3 separate regions of the Homo sapiens genome follow, and regions 1 and 3 are each linked to region 2. Evidence: promoter capture Hi-C in 16 types of primary human blood cells and fetal thymus (Javierre and others, 2016). All regions are on one chromosome and are shown on one strand. The core of a region is centred on a gene start or on the middle of the fragment in contact, and the rest is flanking DNA. Distances in the headings are between cores, read along the strand shown.

Evidence for each region. Contacts are between HindIII fragments. The CHiCAGO score rates a contact against its expected background, and 5 or more counts as called.
Region 1: a fragment that was not itself captured here is called in contact with the fragment with the promoter of GBE1 in region 2 in 2 of 17 cell types (M0 macrophages and monocytes); the score reaches 5.6 in M0 macrophages.
Region 3: a fragment that was not itself captured here is called in contact with the fragment with the promoter of GBE1 in region 2 in 5 of 17 cell types (M0 macrophages, monocytes, M1 macrophages and 2 more); the score reaches 8.9 in M0 macrophages.

What each region holds. Positions count from the first base shown.
Region 1 is chr3:82,097,881-82,101,111 of GRCh38, reverse strand. All of the region lies in intron 1 of LINC02008 (long intergenic non-protein coding RNA 2008), which reads right to left. Among named protein-coding and RNA genes, the nearest start is that of LINC02008, 110 kb to the right of the region's middle. The HindIII fragment of the contact is 1,871 bases long and covers 878-2,748 here.
Region 2 is chr3:81,760,208-81,763,482 of GRCh38, reverse strand. It overlaps GBE1 (1,4-alpha-glucan branching enzyme 1), which reads left to right and starts at 1,838. Exons shown (of 16, transcript NM_000158.4): 1 at 1,838-2,108. The coding sequence starts at 1,966. RefSeq lists silencers at 1,610-1,709, 2,210-2,289 and enhancers at 1,365-1,973, 1,760-2,049, 2,390-2,559. The HindIII fragment of the contact is 5,689 bases long and covers 1,137-3,275 here.
Region 3 is chr3:82,020,459-82,023,631 of GRCh38, reverse strand. The region is part of intron 1 of LINC02008 (long intergenic non-protein coding RNA 2008); the gene reads right to left. Among named protein-coding and RNA genes, the nearest start is that of LINC02008, 36 kb to the right of the region's middle. The HindIII fragment of the contact is 871 bases long and covers 1,359-2,229 here.

The DNA.
Region 1 (3,231 bases), core at 564-3,063, 340 kb before region 2:
AAGAGCAAATAAATGGAAGTATATGATATATTCACATTTGGGGATACTGAGTTTGTGATGCTAAAAAGACAGTTGGAAATGCCCATCTGATAATTAGAAATATTAGTCCAGATATAAGGAGAAAAAGGAAATGCTGAAGTGTAGATTTAGGTAGTAGTCGATATAGAATGAGTGAGAGCCAGGAATAGATGAATGTAATGAAAAATGAAATAAAAAAGGAAAATTGAAGAAAATGCCTATTAAATAAAATAACAGATGAGGAACTAATGAGTAGGATACAGGTAGACACGAGCATGGACAAAAGCATCAGCAGTGACAGTGTAGCAGAGAGGTTAAACAGGAAACAAAATAAAGATAATTCATATATTTCAGGAAACATTTCTTTAATGAGAAAGATTTCAGTTGTGTGCTTCAGTCTGCAAGAGTAGGATTATGTCGTTAGTATACATCGAGGAAATAAAGCCATCAATTTAGGAACAAGTTCAGGCTAGCCTGCTGGAGCATGAAAAACCCTGTCCAGAGGAATTCCAGTCATCCCAGACATCCCAGACATCAGCCAAGCAGCTCCAGCCAACCCATGAACTGACAGGTCTGTGAGTTCAGCCATGATCAACCAAACATAGCTCATACCAGCGTGATACCCTAAATTCTAACCCCACAGAATTGTGAATTAAATATACTGATACCATTTTAAGCCATTAAGTTTTGGTTAGTTTTCTGTACAGCAAGATGTAACTAATGCGCCTTCCAATAAGTTGTTTTAATATATATTTTGCCCAATTTTCTAATTATTCTTGATGGGGATTTAGTCCTAGTTACCTAATCCTCTCTCAAGAGAAAATCTCTGAAAATCATTAATATATTAAAACGTTAAGCTTACAACCTTAAAACATCTTTGAATGAAATTTTTATTTTTATTTATTTATTATTTTTCATTTTTTTCTTTCTTTTTGAGACAGAGTCTCGCTCTGTCACTCAGGCTGGAGTGCAGTGGCATGAACTTGGCTCACTGCAACCTCCATCTCCCAGATTCAAGCGATTCTCCTGCTTCAGCCTCCCGAGTAGTTGGGATTACAGGTGTGCACCGCCACTCCTGGCTAATTTTTGTATTTTTAGTAGAGACAAGGGTTTCACTGGGTTGTCCAAGCTGGTCTCGAACTCCCGACCTCAAGTGATCTGCCTGCCTCAGCCTCCCAAACTGATGGGATTACAGGCATGAGCCACCAAGCCAAGCCAAATGGAATTTTTAAAAATTATTATGTATACAAATTTATGGGGTACATGAGTAATTTTGTTACATGTATATAATGCATAGTGATCAAGTCTGGGTATTTAGCGAGTCTATTACCTGAGTATAATATATTTTTGTTAAGTATAGTCATCCTATTCTGCTATCAAACATTGAATTTATTTCTTCTATCTAACTATATATATGTACTGTGAGGGATTTTTTTTAAAAGGTTAAAAAATAAAGTATATTACTAAGTGCAGAACATTAAAATTCACAACAAATTGCACTAATATCCATAAATTCTTAAATATTTATTACCTCTGCTATAACATCTTCCAAATCAGTAAATAAAAAACTTAAAAAATACATATTAAACATAATTATGCACACAAAGTACTAATTGTGTAATTTCCTTTTGAATTTTAGTCATTGCCAAATTGTTAGAAAATATTTTTTTCAGCTTTAAAAGGTTTAAATAGGAAAAAAAAAATCATCTAATAAGATAGGCACTACCAAAACCCACAATGGTTATATCACACCACAATAACCTAATAACCTAATGGCACATAGATCAATAAGCATTTAAAAATGACATACAAACACAAAAAGAGAACTTGTAATAAAAAATATCAAGCAAAATACTTTGATTGTAGGTTGTTGGAGATAGGTTTGATGGAAAATAGGTAGTTGTTTTTGACCTTGAGGACGGTTATAAAAGTAGCACGGCAGCACAAAATCAATCACAATAAACTGGAAAAAAAAGTTTGTAAATAAAACTAGTGAGAAATTGTTTGTTTGTTTTTTTCACTTTTTCCACAAGGAAATGCAATGATAAATGTCCAGAAAAGCAATAAAAATATTTCCTTTCTTTTAAACTAAGGAACATCTTTATGAAAAAGGATGTAGAAGATAATCTACCAGAAGAGAAAATAAGAATAAGCAAAGTTATGGAAACATAGCAAAATAATTATGCCTGATGATTGGTACCTGTTATTTTATGATGCCTCTTATAAAATACTTCAGTACTGCATTATTCAGTTTGACACACTAACAATCCTAGGCTTTAATAAAACAATGAGCAACAAAACCCAATCAGAATTAATGATATAGCTAGTTTGCCCACAGGAGGTAAAATATCAATCTATAATGCTGATTGACTTATTTCAACTTTGATAAAAAATGGCTAGTATAATTATAGACTAATATGTAAGTAATAAGTCTGGATCTCATCACCACTGGATAACAGAACTGTTATGGCTGTGAATCAGATTGTCTAATACAAGTTTTTGAACACCATATCAGAAGCAGAGTGATTTATTGACTACCCATATCATCTACAAGCTCTAATTTAAGTTGTAAGAACAACTGCTTCTGTTGTAATTAATTCTGGGCATGGAGTTAATCAGGCAATCATCTTTATTAGTTTACTACATGATTAATATGCTCTTGTTTGTTAGGATGGAAAAGAAATAGCATGCCTGATTTGGACAGGTCAGATATTATAGGTCTTTCAAGCTTTACAACAAACTAAAAGGTTTTGTTGTTTTGTTTTGTTTTACTTCAAAATCATGGGGGAAATATTTTTGAAAAGTTCATAAAAGGAAGAGAGACAATTCACAAAAAGGCACTTCAGATTTCCAGTTTAGTATAGTGAAGAAAGAACCTCCTCCCAAATTATATGATGAAAGGAAAGAATGATGATATTGGTGTGTAGATGAGGATGAATCTATTATAACTGAAATATCTGAAAACATACTCTTGCTCAAAGAGATAATTAGGGCTAAAATATAAAGGTGGGGTGGGGGAGGGGTAAAAGCACTATAATGAATTCTAATAGTTTTTCATGTTTGAAGGATGCCAACAAAGTAATCCTGAAAGGTGAATTCATCCATTTATCCTTCTAGCAAACTCACAAGTGGGCTTCACTAAGGAATATTGCTGAATATGTCTAGAAATTTGCAAATGAAATCAAAGCAAATTAATTCTCACAGGATGGTGTT
Region 2 (3,275 bases), core at 589-3,088:
GAAAAGTGGCTGGAAAGGTAGTCAGGGTCCAGATTATACAAGCCTTGTTAGAGAATGATAAGCTGTTTCTATTTTACCCTAAGTGAAATACTATGCTATTTAAGTTGCTAAATGACATCGTCTGATTTACTCAGTGTAGAGTCTCACCAAACTGTGTCCCCAACCACCAGCATCAGAATCACTTCTGAGCTTGTTAAAAATGCAATCTGAAGCACCACATCGGAACTCAATTAAGATCCCTAGGTGATTCATATGCACATTAAAGTGTGAGAAACACTGGTACAGAGAATGGAGTAGAGGTGAGAAAGAGTAGAAGAGGGGAAGTCAGTTAGAGAGCTACATTCTGGTCCAAGTGAAGGAAAACAGTGGCCTGCATAAGAGTGACAGCAGGAAGGATGAGAAGACGGATTCTAGGTCACGTTTTGCAGACAGTTTGTTTAGGTCTCCTAGCCAGCTAAATGGAAATCTCAGTAGACAGGCAGTGATACAAGCCTGGGTTTCTGAAAAAAGTTTAGGCTTGGAGATGTAGATCTGTGGGTCTGTTATTAATAGTTGTCCTGCTTCGGGTTTTTATTTTTTTTTAATTTTCTTCCTTTTTTAGTGCTTTATATTTTACAAATGTCTGCAGCAGTTTTTTGTCATCTTTATGGAAAACAAGGCACGTCTTAAAGTCGTTCAAGTCCTTCACTTTTTCACACTGAGGTCTGTCTTCATATCCACTTATCTTTCAAGTCTATGAAACCCCTTATAAAAACTTTCCTTTGAAATATTTTAAAATTCAAGGCCCACGGCTGATTAATACTGTTTCTCCTCCATAACCCCTAGGATCCTCCAGTTCTGGGTTTTAACAAGAAAAATATCCTCAATCCTCTCTAGTTTCTAGGTGTAAAGCAGCTTGGACCCTCCTGGGTTTGGTGGGTCCATCTCTCTTGGAGTCCAACTCTGTATTCCTAAAAAGCAATTATTGAAATAGAAGCTAGTCAGTTAATGGCAATAAAAGAAGGGAATTCCAAGTGGGAGCTTCCCAAGCCAAGAGGAAGAGAGGTTTCTTGCCTTATCACTGTAAGTGGCAGAGTGGAGTTCCAATTCAATGATATCATTTGTGTTATCAAAGGTAGTTTAATCGTTGAAAAGCTTGTTAACAATTATAAACACAGGCAAATGCCTTTTCCTTTTTGGCCTTACGGAGAATGAGAAAAGTTCTTCCCATGGCTAAAATTCTTAGCTGTTGGTAATGCAGAAAAGAGTACCAGAACAGCAGAATTCCAACGGTATTCCAGGATTCTGTGTCTTGGTTAATTTTAAATTCACGTGACCTGGCAAACTTAGGAGAGTCCTGGTTGTAAGAGGTATTAACATTTTCAGCAGTAGTACTCTAGCTACACTTGACTGTTCCCCTCTCTGTGAATTTACATGATATGTTTGAAATACTGCCCCTCAAAAGTCTCAGAACTTTGAGAAATACGGTCCTTTCCAAAAAAACCCCTTATGTCCAATTTGAAGGGGTCGCTGTCAGTGGGTGCTTAAGTGGGTAAAGAAAAGCCAAGAATATGTCAGGGTGAGGAAGGCCAAGGCTGAGCGAGGTCAGCTTGGGACCCACCTCCTAGAATGACCTCCGCCAGCAGGAAAAAACCGTTAAGGGGAGGAAAGGGCAGGTCCCTGCGGCCTCCAGGTGCCAGCCGCGTGAGTGGGCGGAGAGGCCTCGGTGCCTCCTACCCGCTCCGGACGTGCGTCCCGGCATCACCCCGGGATCCGCTCCTCCCCGCTGGCGGGGGGAGAAAGGGCAGGAGGCCTTCCGTCCCGGCTATAAAGGGCCCCGGACCGCCGCGGCTCGCCTCGGCTTGCCTCGACACGCCTAGGCGCCCTCCGGCTCCGCCCTAGCCGCCGCGTCCCAGCTAGAGCTCCAGCGCCCGCTCAGGCCCCACTCGACCTCTCGGGCCTCGGCTACTTGGACTGCGGCGGAATATGGCGGCTCCGATGACTCCCGCGGCTCGGCCCGAGGACTACGAGGCGGCGCTCAATGCCGCCCTGGCTGACGTGCCCGAACTGGCCAGACTCCTGGAGATCGACCCGTACTTGAAGCCCTACGCCGTGGACTTCCAGCGCAGGTACCGCCGGAATCCCACCACCCCCACTTAGACAGGCAGCCCGCCTCCCAGGAGCCGTCTCGGGACACGGGCCGCCCCTCGGCCCTCGCGCGCCAACCCCGCCCCAGGCGGGGAGGAACCTGAGTGGGCGGGGCTCGGGGTGACTCGGGTAACCGGGTTCTGTGGCTTCCGTAGTGGCAGGTTTGACAGCGCTGGTGCCCGGAGCGGGCGCTGAAGAAACTTCTTTCCTCATCCCCTTTCCCCTCTGTTCTAATCAGCGGTCTTGCGCCATAGGGTACGTGCTGTGGCTCCAACACTTATTCCCCAGAGTGCTGCTGGGGAGTGACTCACCGCCGCTGCAGGTTTTCTGACTTTGGCACCCACTAGCGTGGGCCTGTGGAGTAACGTGGGCATAACTCCTGGCACGTGTAATTACGCATTTAAAACTTTCTAGTTTATTTCATAGCAAATGTTGTGATTTTATATCTAAGAGGATTCCTTCAGGCAGACACTATATCCTTTTGTTTTTTCCTTGCTAATATTCCTCATTTAGGGGAAGATTACACCTACATTGATCAATTTTTTCTCCCCTTGGATCAACATTGAGAAGTTAAATGTACATCAACATTTGTCCGTGTGTGACTTTAACCATCTTGAAGAGGGAGAAAGGTCAGGAAAGCAACTTTTACAGGCCAATGTCGTTTTAGCTTGTCTTCTACCATTGTGTACCATACAACTTTAGTTACTGGGCTAATAATTCTATTCATAAGTTCCACTAAAAAGGTACAGGTCTTTTTCTGTTGTCGTTGTTGTTTGAAGTAAAAGAGCTATTATACAAGTTGTAATAGTTATACTTGTGAGGTTACCCCATTTTGATTTAATAGTTTCTCCCCTTTTAGGAGAGACACTGCAGAATGGAAACTATCCTGGCAACAGAATATACATGGCCAATTTTTCGAGTGATGGAAAACATCCAACTAGTTAACTGGCATGAAGGAGCGTTGAGAGTAATGAAAATGGGTTGATTTGGAGTTTGAAAAAAGCCCAGCAAATTGTTTGTGTCCTAGCATTTTCAGGTATTAAATGCATTCAAATCAGCAAGTGTTTATTGAGGAACTCCTATAAATAAAACACTGCTCTAGGGATTGTAAGGGATGTGAAGTTTCATTCTTGAGCTTGTATATAGTA
Region 3 (3,173 bases), core at 545-3,044, 260 kb before region 2:
ACTATTAATGTACTTAATAGGTAGAGGAAAGCATTTGCACAGAAAAAAATTTAAAAACATATTATATCAAAACAAATGCATGTATTATAGAGTTACATTCAACATTTTTGTGATTTAAAAATAATAAGAATAGAATAGAATAATAGCTTTCCAAAAATATTGACACCCACAACCAAATCCCCAGAAGCAGTATACAGACAGGCTTAGAGAGAGTGCTCTGGTACTCACATTCCCAAGACTCAGCTCTAACACATACTAACTCATTAATTGTGAGCCTCACTTTCCTTATCTCATGCAATGAAATATTTATTTGGGTTATGTTAGCACTCAGCTGAGACAGTGTAGATATAAGAGCCTGGTTCTTTGGGCTTTGTTGTTAAAGTATAAAGAGAAAATAATTTGTGAGTAGTAAGTATACATTAAGCTAATTAATACAATTGTTTACACATAAAATACAATATTCTCTATTCAAGCCCTTGATAAATGTGTTATTATTGTGGCAATGGTAGAGGTGACGGTGGTGGTGTTTCCTTCCCTAGGATCAGTCATTTCCCCATGGCCTTAGGGGTCTTCCAGCCGAAAAGTTTAACAAACTCTGGCACACATAAGTATTAGTCACCTGTCAAACTAGTTTTCTAGCTTCTCTGTGGTCATACCTTAAAATTTCACACCTCTGATCTCCACCACTTAAGAAGCATTTTCTACCACCTCAGGCTTTGAAACCCTACGTATCCCTTCAGTTAGGTTTTCTTTCTTGGCATCTTCCCTAATTATACCATATTATATAATATTATAGGGGTAATATTATACTGTAAGAATATCATTCTTATTCTTATTTTTCAGATGAGAAAACTGAAAGTGACATAGATCGTATTTATTGCTCAAGGTCACCAACACAGAAGAAGCTAAAAAGTGGCTGAGTCAGCTTCAGCAGCTTCATATTCACTTTCCACAGTTACGCTTCCCTGTTGCCTCAGTCTCAGCTAGTCCACTACAGACCATCTTGGGTTGACACTATTTGTATCTATGGCTTATTTCCATTACTAAATTATGAGATCCCAGGATTTCAAAACTCTTCTTCTACTGGTTGTTATCTGAAACAAAAAGGCCAACCAGGAACTAGAGAAGACAAAAAACTGCTTTTCATCGGACCTTGATGAACTAAAGAAATACTAACATTCTCAAGGGAAAAACTACATGGAGAGATTTCAAGACTATAAAGATTCAGAGAATTGTCTTAACTTTCAGAAGCTATGCCAAAGAAATCTGAATCTTTGGCATGTCACTTTTGATGACACATGTCGACTTTCATAGGGTCATGAGATAAATAGTAACCTGAACCACTTGCTTCCAAAGCTTCTACTTCCTCTGAAGGCTGACATGGTGTGTCTTATGAAGTCACAAGTCCCGTTATACCTGCAGCAATCAATACTGCAATTAAAGGGAACTAGTACCTGAAGGAATTGATCAAACAAGTCCAAACCTATCATCCTCTCCAGTCACTATACATTTGAAACAATAAAATTACACAGTAAATATACTGCACACACACACAAAAATTCCTAAGAGGATTGGGTCATAAAGATACAAATCAAAAAATAAATAAGGCTTTATACAAATTTTAAAATGTTAAAGTAGCAATTTGTAGAGGTAAAAAAATTAAACATTACTCCCAGTTAACAATGTCCACTCCTTTCAGATTTTACTCATTCAGTAGATTCAACACAGAAGTCACACTATGCTTCACACTTTTACATTTTTGTCAATAAGATTAAGATATCAATGGCAAGCTAACATAAGATCAGCATTTCTAGCTGAATGAGAGAAGGTCCTTGATTCGCCTGTACAAATTCAATAGCAACTCATTAGCTCTAACTATGACTTATTACTTTGTTTCTTAGAGGATAATGTCTCAATATTTTGCCTTGTTAAATAAGGCAAATGATTTTATGTAACCTTAGATTTGAAGTTAATCTTAAATATGGTTGCAGAAAGAGCTTGAGGGGGCACTCCAAAGGAATCCCAGAATTTGAGGACAAAGTCAGATAAAGGTTACCCTCTGAAAATGAAAGTTTAAAAATCATAACATTTCAATATCAGGTGTAATTAAAATATATTGAGCACATACCATGTTACATACATGTGTCCTCATATTGATTCTCTCATTCATGAATTCTACTATTATTTAGTGAGCTATGTTAGATACAAGTGACAGAAACAACTCAAGCTTGCTTAAACAAAAAAAGGGATTTAAAGAAATGTGGGAGAGAGGTCCTATGGTACCTAAATAGGTTTGCAGATGGACCTCAGAAATTACCTAGAATAAAGGAAATGTAAACTATTAAAAGTTTTTTTTTCTTTTCTCAATGTTGTTTCTTTTTGCATAGCTTCATTATTCTTCTGTCAGATTCTTTATCTGTTTGGAATGTTAGGGCCACAACATAGCTTCAGATTTCACATGGTAAATGTTATGCATAAGCAAAGGGTCACTTCTGTCTCATTCCCAACTCCAAAATCCCAATGAAAGGAGAACCTAGTTGGAGCCTGTTGTGCCAGGTGTCTAATTCAACTTAATCACCAATGCCTGGGAGGCAACATTATAAGACTACCATGAATTACTTCTGGTGAAGAGGAGCAAAACCATTATAAATTTGAAAAATAACCCAATCTATATTAATGCATGTGGCCATCTATAGCAGTAATTTCTCCAAACAATCAGTGCATTGTACTTAATTCAATCAAGGAGATCAAACACACCTCAGTTTCCTGGAAAATTATAAACCACTCTGCTCTTTTGTAGTGTATCTGAAGTGATATCCTTATTTTATGTCAGAAAAGCCATGATCTTGCATGGAGCATAAAAAAAAGATAGCTTATACATTAAAAATGAGTCAATGCTAACCAGCATTGTCTAAGAGCAAATGGCTGTCAGGAATATTCAAGTAACTAAACAGATGTGTATTATATAGATAAATCTCCTGCATTTCCTCCATCCTGGGTGAAATATTTCTCAATACCATTCAACTATCTTTACACTATTTTCACCCTTACTAGTCATTTAACTTACTAGTTCAGTTTTCCTGGTAGTGTTAATAAGAAACATTTTGACCTGCACAGTAGACATTAGGTTTCTTACTATGACTGGAATATAATCCCTACTGTAAACAAATCTC